Regions from separate parts of the Homo sapiens genome. Here region 1 is linked to region 2. The links are contacts of gene promoters, found by promoter capture Hi-C in blood cells and fetal thymus (Javierre and others, 2016). All regions are on one chromosome and are shown on one strand. Each heading gives the region's core, a stretch centred on a gene start or on the middle of the fragment in contact. The rest is flanking DNA. Distances are from core to core; before and after follow the strand shown.

Region 1 (5,967 bases), core at 3,245-5,744, 290 kb after region 2:
AGCCCCCATTATAAATCACATCATTTGAGCATCTGGTGGCCAAACTCCTCAGGCAAACAATGACATTCCTATTGGGCAGGACATTCCAGAGGCCTAGAGATCATCTCCCAGTAGCCGAGGGCCAAAGCCAGACCTCTCTTTGGGTAAAATCAATTCTTCACTACACAGGGGAGTTTTACCTTTTGTTTTTTTTAATTCGAGATCGAGTGCTATAACACACTGTTCTGTTTAATCTTTGCTCTCTTCTTTGACCTGTTTCTTCTCTTTCCAAGTTGGCTTCAGGTCACATGTTGCTCTGGAGAACCGAGAAGGGTGAGCAGACACCAATCATGACCCCAAACAGCAAGAGGACAGAAGGTAAGTGAAGTCTTTATGATCAAGCAAGAAATATTCTGTTTACAATGGAAATTATTATAAATTATCTTTTTTTACATGACATTGAAATGAGTTCTAGTAAATGTATCTGTTAGTAAGGAAAAGACCAAAGCAATGCCGGGCAGTGATGTCAAAGTAACATAATACTGTAATCTACTTGACATTCTCTGATAATATACCACAACACTGCAGCCTATAATTTCCTACAGATTAATATGCCAAGAAGGTGCCAGTTACTTATTGAAATGTAAAATTCAGATGATTTCACTGGTGTGTGGTGGGAGCTTATGCACATGGGTATATAAACGTGTGGCTGCTTTCTCTCTTATTTCACAAAAGTCCATTGCGGGTTTTTTGTTCGTTTGTTTGAGATGGAGTCTCGCTCTGTTGCCCAGGCTGGAGTGCAGTGGCATGATCTCTGCTCACTGCACCCTCCGCCTCCTGGGTTCAAGCGATTTTCCTGCCTCAGCCTCCTAAGTAGCTGGGATTACAGGCATGCGCCATCACACCTGGCTAATTTTTTTGTATTTTTAGTAGAGATTGGGTTTCACCATGTTGGCCAGGCTGTTCTCGAACTCCTAACCTCATGATCTGCTTACCTAAGCCTCCCAAAGTGCTGGGATTATAGGCTTGATCCACCACGCCCAGCCTTCATTGTGATTATTAATTTTGGAGTACAAGCTGTCATCACACTGTCATCAAAAACATTTATTAAGTCTCCAAATTGCAAAGTATGTTTTGTTTTTGTAACTGTTTATTTACCTTTCTCCCAACTAGATGGTGAGCAGTTTACACAGGTGCTCAACAAATGTATTTTAATGAATGTCTACAAGAGGTTAACTAATTTGAATTTTTAAAAAAAATTACCCGAGGTGGGCGGATCACGAGGTCAGGAGATCGAGACCATCCTGGCTAACACGGTGAAACCCTGTCTCTACTAAAAATACAAAAAATTAGCCGGGAGAGGTGGCGGGCACCTGTAGTCCCAGCTACTCGGGAGGCTGAGGCAGGAGAATGGCGTAAACCCCGGGGGACAGAGCCTGCAGTGAGCCGAGATCGTGGCACTGCACTCCAGCCTGGGCGACAGCGAGACTCCATCTCAAAAAAAAAAAAAATTACACAGCACAATAGAAGCATAATAAAAGTATAACAACAATAATGAACCTATAAGAAGGCATTGAAGTTGCTGCCCAGAAAGTCAGTTTCCCGTTCCAGCTCTGCTCCTTGGTTGTTTGACATTGGGCAGGTCTCAATTCTCACATCTATTTCCTCATCTGAAAAACAGAATAACTCATGTTTGCTCTACTTACCCAGGAGGCTACTGTAAGAATCAAATGAATCCATCAATTTTAAGGTGTTTTACAAACGATGAAGTATTTTGCTGATGTTATTATTTCTTTTTGTTGTTGCTGTTTTGAGACGGAGTCTCACTCTGTCACCCAGGCTGGAGTGCCGTGGTGCCATCTCAGCTCACTGCAACCTCTGCCTCCCAGGCTGAAATGATTATCCTGCCTCAGCCTCCCAAGTAGCTGGAACTACAGGCACCCACCACCATACCCAGCTAATTTGTGTGTTTTTAGTAGAGACAGGGTTTCGCCATGTTGTCCAGACTGGCCTCGAACTCCTGGCCTCAGGTGATCCACCTACCTCGGCCTCCCAAAGTGCTGAGATTACAGGTGTGACCCACCGCGCCCGGCCTGCTGATGTTATTATTTCAACAGAAAAATTATTTTAGAAGTGGCATGCATTTTACTAGGATGCAAAACATGATTGGGGAAACAGACTCAAGAATTCTAAACCTAGGCAGATTGAGGTCAGGGAAGGTACCTCTCATCTCTTTAGTCTTGAAGTAGTCTAGAAGTAATCTACTCCTGGTCTCTGCTGTTTATTATTTGTCTTCTTTGAGCTTCAGTTTCTTTTTTTTTCTTTTTTTTTTTTTGTAGACAAGAGTCTTACTCCGTTGCCCAGGCCAGAGTGCAATGGCACGATCTCGGCTCACTGCAACCTCCACCTCCTAGGTTGAAGCGATTTTTCTGCCTCAGCCTCCTGAGTAGCTGGGATTACAGGCACCTGCCACCATGCCCGGCTAATTTTTGTATTTTTACTAGAGACGGGGTTTCACCATGTTGGCCAGGCTGCTCTCGAACTTCTGACCTCAGGTGATCCACCCATCTCAGCCTCCCAAAGTGCTGGGATTACAGACATGAGACATGGCACCTGGATCTTTTTTTTTTTTTGAGACAAGGTCTCACTCTCGCCCAGGCTGGAGTGCAGTGGTGCGATCTCAGCTCACTGCAGTCTCCGCCTCCTGGGCTCAAGGAATTCTCATGCCTCAGCCTCATGAGTAGCTGGGATTACATGCGTGTGCCACCACACCTGACTAACTTTCATATTTTTGGTAGAGACGGGGTTTCACCATGTTGGCCAGGATGGTCTTGAACTCCTGACCTCAAGTGATCCTCCCACCTTGGCCTCCCAAAATGCTGGGATTACAGGTGTGAGCCACTGTGCCCGGCCCTCAGTTTCTTTATATCATTCTCTCTGAGCCTCGTTTATGTTATATGTAACATGGTGATAAAATGTGCCTTGCCCCAGAAGGTTTGCTAGGGGGTTCAAATTAGATGATTGTTGCTAAGGTCTCTGTGACAGCTATAAAGTACTATACAAATGTAAAAAAATCTTGTATGAATTACCTGAAGGTGATGAGCTTTCAGAGACAGTTTCAGTAAAGCACACAGGCTGAGAGTATGGGAGGCTAACATTGGCAGTCACATCCCAGGAAAGAATAGAACATTTTGGTATCTATTATCTTGGGTTGGATTACACATTGCCTTAGGAACTCCATTGTGACAAGGCCTTGCAAAAAAGTAAAATGAAACATAGGCCCTTTCACATACATTGGCTCAATAAATCTTCCCAACACTGTGCCAAGTGGGAATTATGATGCCCATTTGACTGATGGGGAACTGAAGCTTGGAGATGTTGAAACATACCCAAGATTATGCAACTGGCAGATGGCTGCATCAAAACAAATTTCTCCAACTCCAGCAGAAAAGTTAAGAGCATGCTTACATGAAAAGGAAGAGCTGGCCGGGCGCGTGGCTCACACCTGTAATCCCAACACTTTGGGAGGCTGAGGCAGGTGGATCACCTGAAGTCAGGAGCTTGAGACCAGCCTGACCAACATGGAGAAACCCCATCTCTACTAAAAATACAAAAAAAGAAAAAATTATCTGGGCGTGGTGTTGCATGCCTGTAACTCGGGAGGCTGAGGCAGGAGAATCATTTGAACCCAGGAGGCAGTGGTTGCTGTGAGCCGAGATCAGACCGTTGCACTCCAGCCTGGGCAACAAGAATGAAACTCCGTCTCAAAAAAAAAAAAAAAAAAAAAAAAGAAAAGGAAGAGCTAGTCGGGGGTGGCCTTAAACAAATGGCCCATTTCTCATTCCTCCCTGACACAACTTTCTACCCAAGCCAGCAAACATTTTCTTTCACAAATACTTCTTTTCTCTTTTTTTTTTTTTTTTTGTTAGACGGAGTCTCACTCTGTCACCCAGGCTGGAGTGTAGTGGCACAATCTCAGTTCACTGTAACCTCCACCTCCCTGGTTCCAGCAATTCTCCTGCCTCAGCCTCCCAAGTAGCTGGGTTTATAGGTGCATGCCACCGTGCCCGGCTAATTTTTGTATTTTTAGTAGAGACAGCGTTTCACCAAGTTGGCCAGGCTGGTCTCAAACTCCTGACCTTGTGATCCACCTGCCTCGGCCTCCCAACATTCTGGGATTACAGGCATAAGCCACCGCGCCCGGCCAGTACTTCATATTTCTTACTATGGCTGGGGTTCCCAGAGAAACAACTATGACAACAGGTGGATTTAGGATACAACAGGGTGACGTCTGTGCACGGGCAGGAAGGCATTTTTACTGGAGCGGAGTATGATCAATGTTCACAGCTGTGGCAGCCTGCTCCCCTGAAAGATCTTTAATTGGAGAAGAAGTGGCTATAGCCAGCTTCACTCTGACCCTGTTAGAAATGCCCAGTTCTTAAGTCACATCCCAATTCTACACATAGACTCAAGGGTTTGCAGAAACACCCACTACTCTCCCACCTCCCTCCTCATAAATATGTTCATCCTATGGCCTAGGCGAGTCAAGAGTAGTCCGTCAGACACAAAGACACTAGTGGTCCCTATTTATGTATAAATCTTTTTCACCACCTAGAATTCTTCCTTCATTATTTTGTGTCTCTTCCCTTATTTAAAAGCTAATTTTAAAAAATCTAACTCAAATATCAAAAATTAGAAACAGCCCCAATGTACATCAATTTGGAGACCAATTTGGCTGGACTCACACCTGTAATCCTAGCACTTTGGGAGGCTGAGACAGGTGGATCGCTTGAGCCCAGGAGTTTGAAACCAGCCTGAGCAACAGGGTGAAACTCCGACTCTAAAAAGAAATACAAAGATTAGCTGGGTGTGTTGGCACACACCTGTAGTCTCAGCTAATCAGGAGGCTGAAGTGGGAGGATACTTTGACCTCAGGAGGCAGAGGTTGCAGTGAGCCGAGATCACGCCACTGCACTCCAGCCTGAGAAATACAGCGAGACCCTGTCTCAAAAAAAAAAAAAAAAAAAAGGAGACTAGTTTAAATAAATAATGAGAGCACACATTCAAACAATGGACTATTAAAAGAACAAAGTAGACAGGACATGGTGGCTCACACCTGTAATCCCAGTGCTCTGGGAGGCCAATGCAGGAGGATCACTTGAGGCCAGGGTTTGAGACCAGCCTGGGCAACATAGGGAGAGCCCATCTCTATAAAAAATTTAAAAATTAGATGGGCATGGTGGCACACTCCTGTAGTTATAGCTACTTGGAGGCAGGAGCAGGAGGAAGTCTGGGGTTACAGTGAGCTATGATTGCACCACTGCAATCCAGCCTGAGCAATAGACCAAGGCCCTGTCTCTTTAGAAACAAACCAAAAATAGATATAGCAAGACTGCCAAAATATAATGTTAAGTGAATTAGTAAAGGGAAGAGCAAGGTGTATAGTATGTTCCAATTTTTATAAAAAATAAATATTAAACATAGGCTTACAGTGGCACAAAAAGCTCTAGAATACACAAGAACTGTTAAGAATGGCTGACTCTGGTTAAGGAGACACTTTTCATTGTATTCCTTTAGTGCTGTTTGAATTTTACCATGGCATATATTACTAATTCAATTCAAACAAAACAAAAACAACTTTAACTAAACATGTTTTTCTACCAAAAGCTTTACTTGTCCACCCTACTTCCTAAGTATCTCCCAAATCTGATTACCACCCCCTTCCCACTGCCTCTGCCCCAGCCCAACTACAGGAGTGGACTGTGCTTTGCTCCTGAATTCCATAATCTCAAGGGGCATGTTTCCTTTAAAACATAATTGTTTAAAAAAAAAAAACACCTGGTTATCCAGACCATTTGGTTAAATTGAAAACTATCAAAAGGCATATTACCAGTCACACCTGGCTGTATCCTGCATTACAGAGCTGTTTGAAGGTCAATTTTGAGTTGTTTGCCCTGAGTGCCAACATTGCTACTCATGGTTTTGCCT
Region 2 (5,714 bases), core at 1,096-3,595:
GGATTCATCAAACCCCTGCCATCAGCTCCAAAAGCCCTTAGCCAAAAACAGCTGAATCACTCATCAAACCATCAGTGTCTTCCTCGGCAGAATCAAGGGTTGGACAGAAAGAGTAAATATTCTGCACCTCCACAAAATAAAACTAAAATGCAATTGTCCTGCATCTGAGAATACAAGGGTGGACAGTATGAGCTGCATGACTGTGAACCAATGAGGCTTCTCTTGGCCTCATTTGTAAAAAGGAGATTAACTCTGTAGTCCCGCCTATATTGCATGGCCTCCAGAAAAGCAAATGAGGTGGTAAGTGTAAATTAAAAGCTCCTCTCCTTTAAGAGGGGAACACCATGAGGGGAGAGTAAGAAAAGGAGAAGGAAAAGGCTCTTTCCAGTGACCAACACGCTGAATTTGATGAAAATCCATAAGAGGTTATGCTAAACTGAGAAGCATAAGGGTGGATCTACCATTGCCACCTCCTCTTTGTAGCAAAAAAAATCTTAACACGGCCCCCTCCCAGCTGTTGCACTGAGGTGACTAAGGATACATTTTGAGGAAGTAGCTCCAAGAACATTTCCATTTTCACTGTGCCTTCACATACATCTAATGGAAATGAACAGCACCCTTCATCCATCCACGGAAGCGATTAAGAAAAGGGTGGGATGGAAAAATTAACCCAACAATATTAGATCAATACGTAGTATTTAAGTGTCCATAATGTGCCAGGCTGAAGATGCACGGGAAAACCACACTAGCCGGTCTGTCAAGGGCTTGAGAATACCATAAACAAGAAAACAGACGAACCAATTTCAGACAGCTGCTAGAAGGAAGATAAAATGAGACAGGCAAGTATGAGAGGCGCGAATTCCTGAGTGGATGACGTAGGTCTCTGAGAGGTGACTTTTGAGCCCGTATCTACATGGTAAGTGCCTCGCAGTGACCTGGGGCCGTAGCGTTACCATTTAAAGCACAGACCATTAAATGCAGAAATTATCAACAAAATGAGAAATAGGAATTTCAAAGTCTCAAAGTGAACGACGGAAACTGAAATCTACAAATTAGAAAAAGGCGCAGAATTTTGAATATTCTTGTCGCCCAATCAGGACAAGGCTGGGACCCGGCTGCGCGGCCTTCGTCCAAAATACACAGAACGGCTGGTATCCACAGGAGGCCCCATCGCACGGCAGAACTGGTGACCGGACACAAAAGCTGCTGCCAAGCGTCAGTCATACAGAGCTGTCACGCAGTGTTTGCGGAACCCGGGCTGAATTGTGTCCTGGAGTTCTCTTAAATGACAGCCGAACTCAGCCACTTCGTTTTAGAATGAAACAGACCCAAGGAGCCACCAGGGCGCGTGTGGGGCGGGAGTGGGGGCGGGTAAAGAGGCGGATTCCCAACAGCCTAATTGAGAACCGACTCCTGGGAAGGCTAAGCAGCACAATGAGTAAAGACACGCTCTAGATTCAAAAGCAAATCCAATGACGCACTGGGGACCTCGAGTTCCAAATAGTTAAAAAGCTACGTATGCCATTTCCCATGACCTTCACACTAAAATAACTTACTTTATGAAAAGAAACTAAGGGAATAAGTGAACAAGCTCTTTTCTAGTGATTAGGTGGGTGGCTCTGAAAAGAGCCTTTGGAGTCAAGCAGCCGGCGACTCGAGCGAGCGAGCGCCAGGTCCCGGCAGGGACTCACTTGGAGCTGGTGTACTTGGTGACCGCCTTGGTGCCCTCGGACACGGCGTGCTTGGCCAGCTCGCCGGGCAGCAGCAGGCGCACGGCCGTCTGGATCTCGCGGGATGTGATGGTGGAGCGCTTGTTGTAGTGCGCCAGGCGGGAAGCCTCTCCCGCGATGCGCTCGAAGATGTCGTTGACGAAGGAGTTCATGATGCCCATGGCCTTGGACGAGATGCCGGTGTCGGGGTGGACCTGCTTCAGCACCTTGTACACGTAGATGGAGTAGCTCTCTTTGCGGCTGCGCTTGCGCTTCTTGCCGTCTTTCTTCTGGGCTTTGGTGACGGCTTTCTTGGAGCCCTTTTTAGGGGCCGGAGCGGATTTTGCCGGTTCAGGCATGGTAAGACACAGTACAAACGCGGCTTAGCCAAGAAAAGAAGTAAGAGAATGGGCGGGCCTGATTCTTTTATAACCACCTTATGCAAATTAGGGCTCCGAAAGTCGTTCATTTCCATTGGTCCGTGTGCGGACCTTGCGTTTTCAGCAATGCGTACGTAACAACACCGACTCTTGACTTGATTGGCCGGTTCTGAAGCCATATTAGGACCAATGAAAAACTCGTTCTTGACCCCACCCCTAGGAAAGCTTATAAAGGCTTTCCTCTTGGTTCTCTTTCAATCTTATTTTGTTGCGAGGTTCTGAGCGTTGTCTGTGTTTAACCTTGATTTCAGTCATGTCTGGTCGTGGCAAACAAGGAGGCAAGGCCCGCGCCAAGGCCAAGTCGCGCTCGTCCCGCGCTGGCCTCCAGTTCCCGGTAGGGCGAGTGCACCGCTTGCTGCGCAAAGGCAACTACGCGGAGCGGGTGGGGGCCGGCGCGCCCGTCTACATGGCGGCGGTCCTCGAGTACCTGACCGCCGAGATCCTGGAGCTGGCGGGCAACGCGGCTCGGGACAACAAGAAGACGCGCATCATCCCTCGTCACCTCCAGCTGGCCATCCGCAACGACGAGGAACTGAACAAGCTGCTGGGCAAAGTCACCATCGCCCAGGGCGGCGTTTTGCCTAACATCCAGGCCGTTCTGTTACCAAAGAAAACCGAAAGCCACAAAGCCAAAAGCAAATAAATGCAGACAAACAAACCAAGACCAAAGGCTCTTTTTAGAGCCACCCAAGTTTTCAAAAAAAGAGCTAATGCGCTATTTCGTGATCAGCCCTTCATTTGACACTTTGGTGGCTCTTAAAAGAGCCTTTGGGGTGAATGAGTATGGTGTCAAGCCTCTTAATTACTTGTTCTTGCCAGGCTTGTGACTCTCCGTTTTCTTGGGCAACAGGACAGCCTGGATATTGGGCAAGACGCCGCCCTGGGCAATGGTGACACCCCCGAGTAACTTGTTGAGCTCTTCGTCATTCCTCACGGCTAGTTGCAGATGGCGAGGGATGATGCGCGTCTTCTTGTTGTCCCGAGCCGCGTTGCCCGCCAGCTCCAGAATTTCCGCGGTCAGGTACTCGAGGACCGCCGCCAGGTACACCGGGGCGCCTGCCCCGACCCGCTCCGCGTAGTTGCCTTTGCGCAGCAAGCGGTGCACTCGCCCCACCGGGAACTGGAGACCAGCGCGGGACGAGCGCGACTTGGCCTTAGCGCGGGCCTTGCCTCCCTGCTTTCCGCGTCCTGACATTACGGCTAAAATTGCAGTTACAGCTTCTTTTACAAGGAGAAGAATGTGGAAAGAATAACCAATTTGATGTAATTTATAAGAGCTACCGGGAGGGGTGAAGGGAAGTCGTTTGATTGGCTAAAAGCGGAGCCGTATCTAACAGCCAATAGAAAAGCAGAAAGCCGCCTCTTGGTTTGCGTCCTGCACTGAAAGGAAATGACGGATTTTGTAAGTATCTACCAATCGCTGAGAGCCACATTAAAGCCCCTTATTTGCATGCCAGGATCTTTAAAGAGAGCAGGCTTTCAAACAAAATACTGGTTTTGTTTTACTGAGAGGCACTGTGGGTTTTTGTTTTGTTTTGCTTTGCTTTGTTTAGTTTACAGCCGGGAAATCCCAATATGGACCCTAAGGAACTGCAGAAGACATCCTTAGACGGAGAGTTACTCTCACGAAAGAGTAGGGGATTCTGAAGCCGATGATCCCCTTGAGCTCTAAACTGCCAAGTCCCGCCCTTTCTGTCTCGTCACAGCCAAATTCCCTTTAAAAATACATGTACTACTAAGGCTGCCTCCTTTCTCGCCCCTAAACTTAAGTCGCCCGCAGCGGCGTGTCTCCGCCCCACCCCCACCCGCCTGCACTCCTCGGAATCCGGTTTGACCGAGGCTAGAATAGATTTGTCATCCTCCTCTTGACCTCCAGGAGGCGGCCTTCAAACTTGCTCCCTTGGCTTTCAAAATGTCGCCCTGTTTTTCTTCTTACCTCGCCGACTTTTCTTATCCTGCTCCCCCATGCCACTGCCCATCTCTAAATCTGCGAGTCCAGCTGGACTGTTTCCCTGTCTCCAATTCTTCACTTATCCCGAAGAGTCTTACCCATTTATATGCTTTCAACTAACGTCCAAATTTGTTTCAGAAGCTCAGACCCTTATGCCTAACTGCTTACAGAATACTTCAACCTACTTATCCCAACGAGCACCTCAAACTCAAACTCTACCTCAGCCTATCCGAACGCGAACTCATACAAACAACCTCCCCTCTTTGCCCTCTTTTCCTGAAATGCACCAGCATACTTACAGATACCTAAGCCGAAATCTACTCTACTCTTCCCTTCGTCTTAGCATATCCAGTCAGTTGCTTCCTTAACATCCCTTCAGACTTTTTCTCCATGCTCCCTTGTCCACCTCATCATCATCCCTTAGATTTCAGCAACAGCCGGGAAAGGGTAATTTTGCCGTCAGGCACTAATCGCTGGCATGACTCCAGCGGTCTTAGAAATCTTTCCTGAAAGCTCTCCTTTTTTTCTTTTATCCCATATAACAGATGAACCTGAAAGCTCTTGTGTTTCTTCCTCCTCAACGTCCCATCTCTGGGAGTTCTACATCTCCTACACCATTCTCACCCTTTCCTTAGTATCCCTTAAGGTCAGGTAGAATGCTAGAGAGAAAAAATAGACTTGTGGGTTTTTTGTTCGTTTTTTGAGGCGGAATTTCCTCTGTCACCCAGGCTGGAGCACTATCTCAGCTCACTGCAACCTCCACCACCGCCTCCTCCACCCCGCCCCCACCCACCCGGGTTCAAGCGATCCTCCCACCTCAGCCTCCCGAGTAGCTGGGATGACAGGCGCCCACCACCCCGCCTGGCTAATTTTTGTATTTTTAGTAGAGATGGGGTTTCATCTCTACTAATGTTGACCAGGGTGATCTCGAACTCCTGACCTCAAATCTCGAATGTTGGCCAAGGTGGTCTCGAATTCCTGACCTCAAATGATCTGCCCACCTCGACCTCCCAAAGTGCTGGGATTACAGGCGTGAGCCACTGCACCCGGCCAGAAAATACTTAAATCATTCTTTGACACTTTTCCTGATGTTTTCTCCTTTATTCTCACCAGTTTATTCAACTGGCATTTATTGGATGTGTGCTATTGGGCCATGGGTGTATAGATAATTGAAAGTAGTACAAACAAGTCTGTGATGAAATGCCTCCAGAAAATGGAGGAAATCTGGTGAACTCTGAGAGTTAAATTAGTTAAAATCAGCTACGTATAGAGATTACTCCTGATAAGAATGCTGGTATAGATTTGGGAAACACCAAAGTTCAGACAGAGGTGATGAGGGTGTAACCTAAGATCCTTCTAATCCAATTGATTATATCATTTGAGAAGATGAATGTTAACAGAAAGGTGCGGTCCACATAGAGTCCAAACAGGTGGCAATTATAGTAGGAATATGTTATGTTTTCACCAACACTAAAATATATCTGGCAGATGTAAAGTTTGGCCTAGAAAAGGGTCCTTGGTTATGAAAGCATCAACCCTTTCTCACAGCCTGGGTGAAATATTTCTGAAGACTATCCAAGTTCTTTCATTCAGATTCTGTGCTCAATTAACAAC

The links. The method cuts DNA at HindIII sites, captures the fragments that hold promoters and counts their contacts. A CHiCAGO score of 5 or more calls a contact.
Region 1: a contact is called between a fragment that was not itself captured here and the fragment with the promoter of H2AC20 in region 2, in 8 of 17 cell types (erythroblasts, M0 macrophages, total B cells and 5 more). The highest score is 9.2, in erythroblasts.

The regions. Positions count from the first base shown.
Region 1 is chr1:150,173,458-150,179,424 of GRCh38, forward strand. LINC02988 (long intergenic non-protein coding RNA 2988) reads left to right here. Exons shown (of 4, transcript NR_135098.1): 3 at 273-357. Among named protein-coding and RNA genes, the nearest start is that of LINC02988, 16 kb to the left of the region's middle. RefSeq lists a silencer at 1-186. The HindIII fragment of the contact is 2,299 bases long and covers 3,346-5,644 here.
Region 2 is chr1:149,884,573-149,890,286 of GRCh38, forward strand. It overlaps H2AC20 (H2A clustered histone 20), which reads left to right and starts at 2,346. Exons shown (of 1, transcript NM_003517.3): 1 at 2,346-2,839. The coding sequence starts at 2,403. The coding sequence ends at 2,792. H2BC21 (H2B clustered histone 21) reads right to left here and starts at 2,110. Exons shown (of 1, transcript NM_003528.3): 1 at 1-2,110. The coding sequence starts at 2,068. The coding sequence ends at 1,688. H2AC21 (H2A clustered histone 21) reads right to left here and starts at 3,393. Exons shown (of 1, transcript NM_175065.3): 1 at 2,897-3,393. The coding sequence starts at 3,344. The coding sequence ends at 2,952. RefSeq lists enhancers at 713-1,306, 1,084-1,163, 1,574-1,663, 1,734-2,023, 2,344-2,413 and 6 more. The HindIII fragment of the contact is 4,135 bases long and covers 2,313-5,714 here.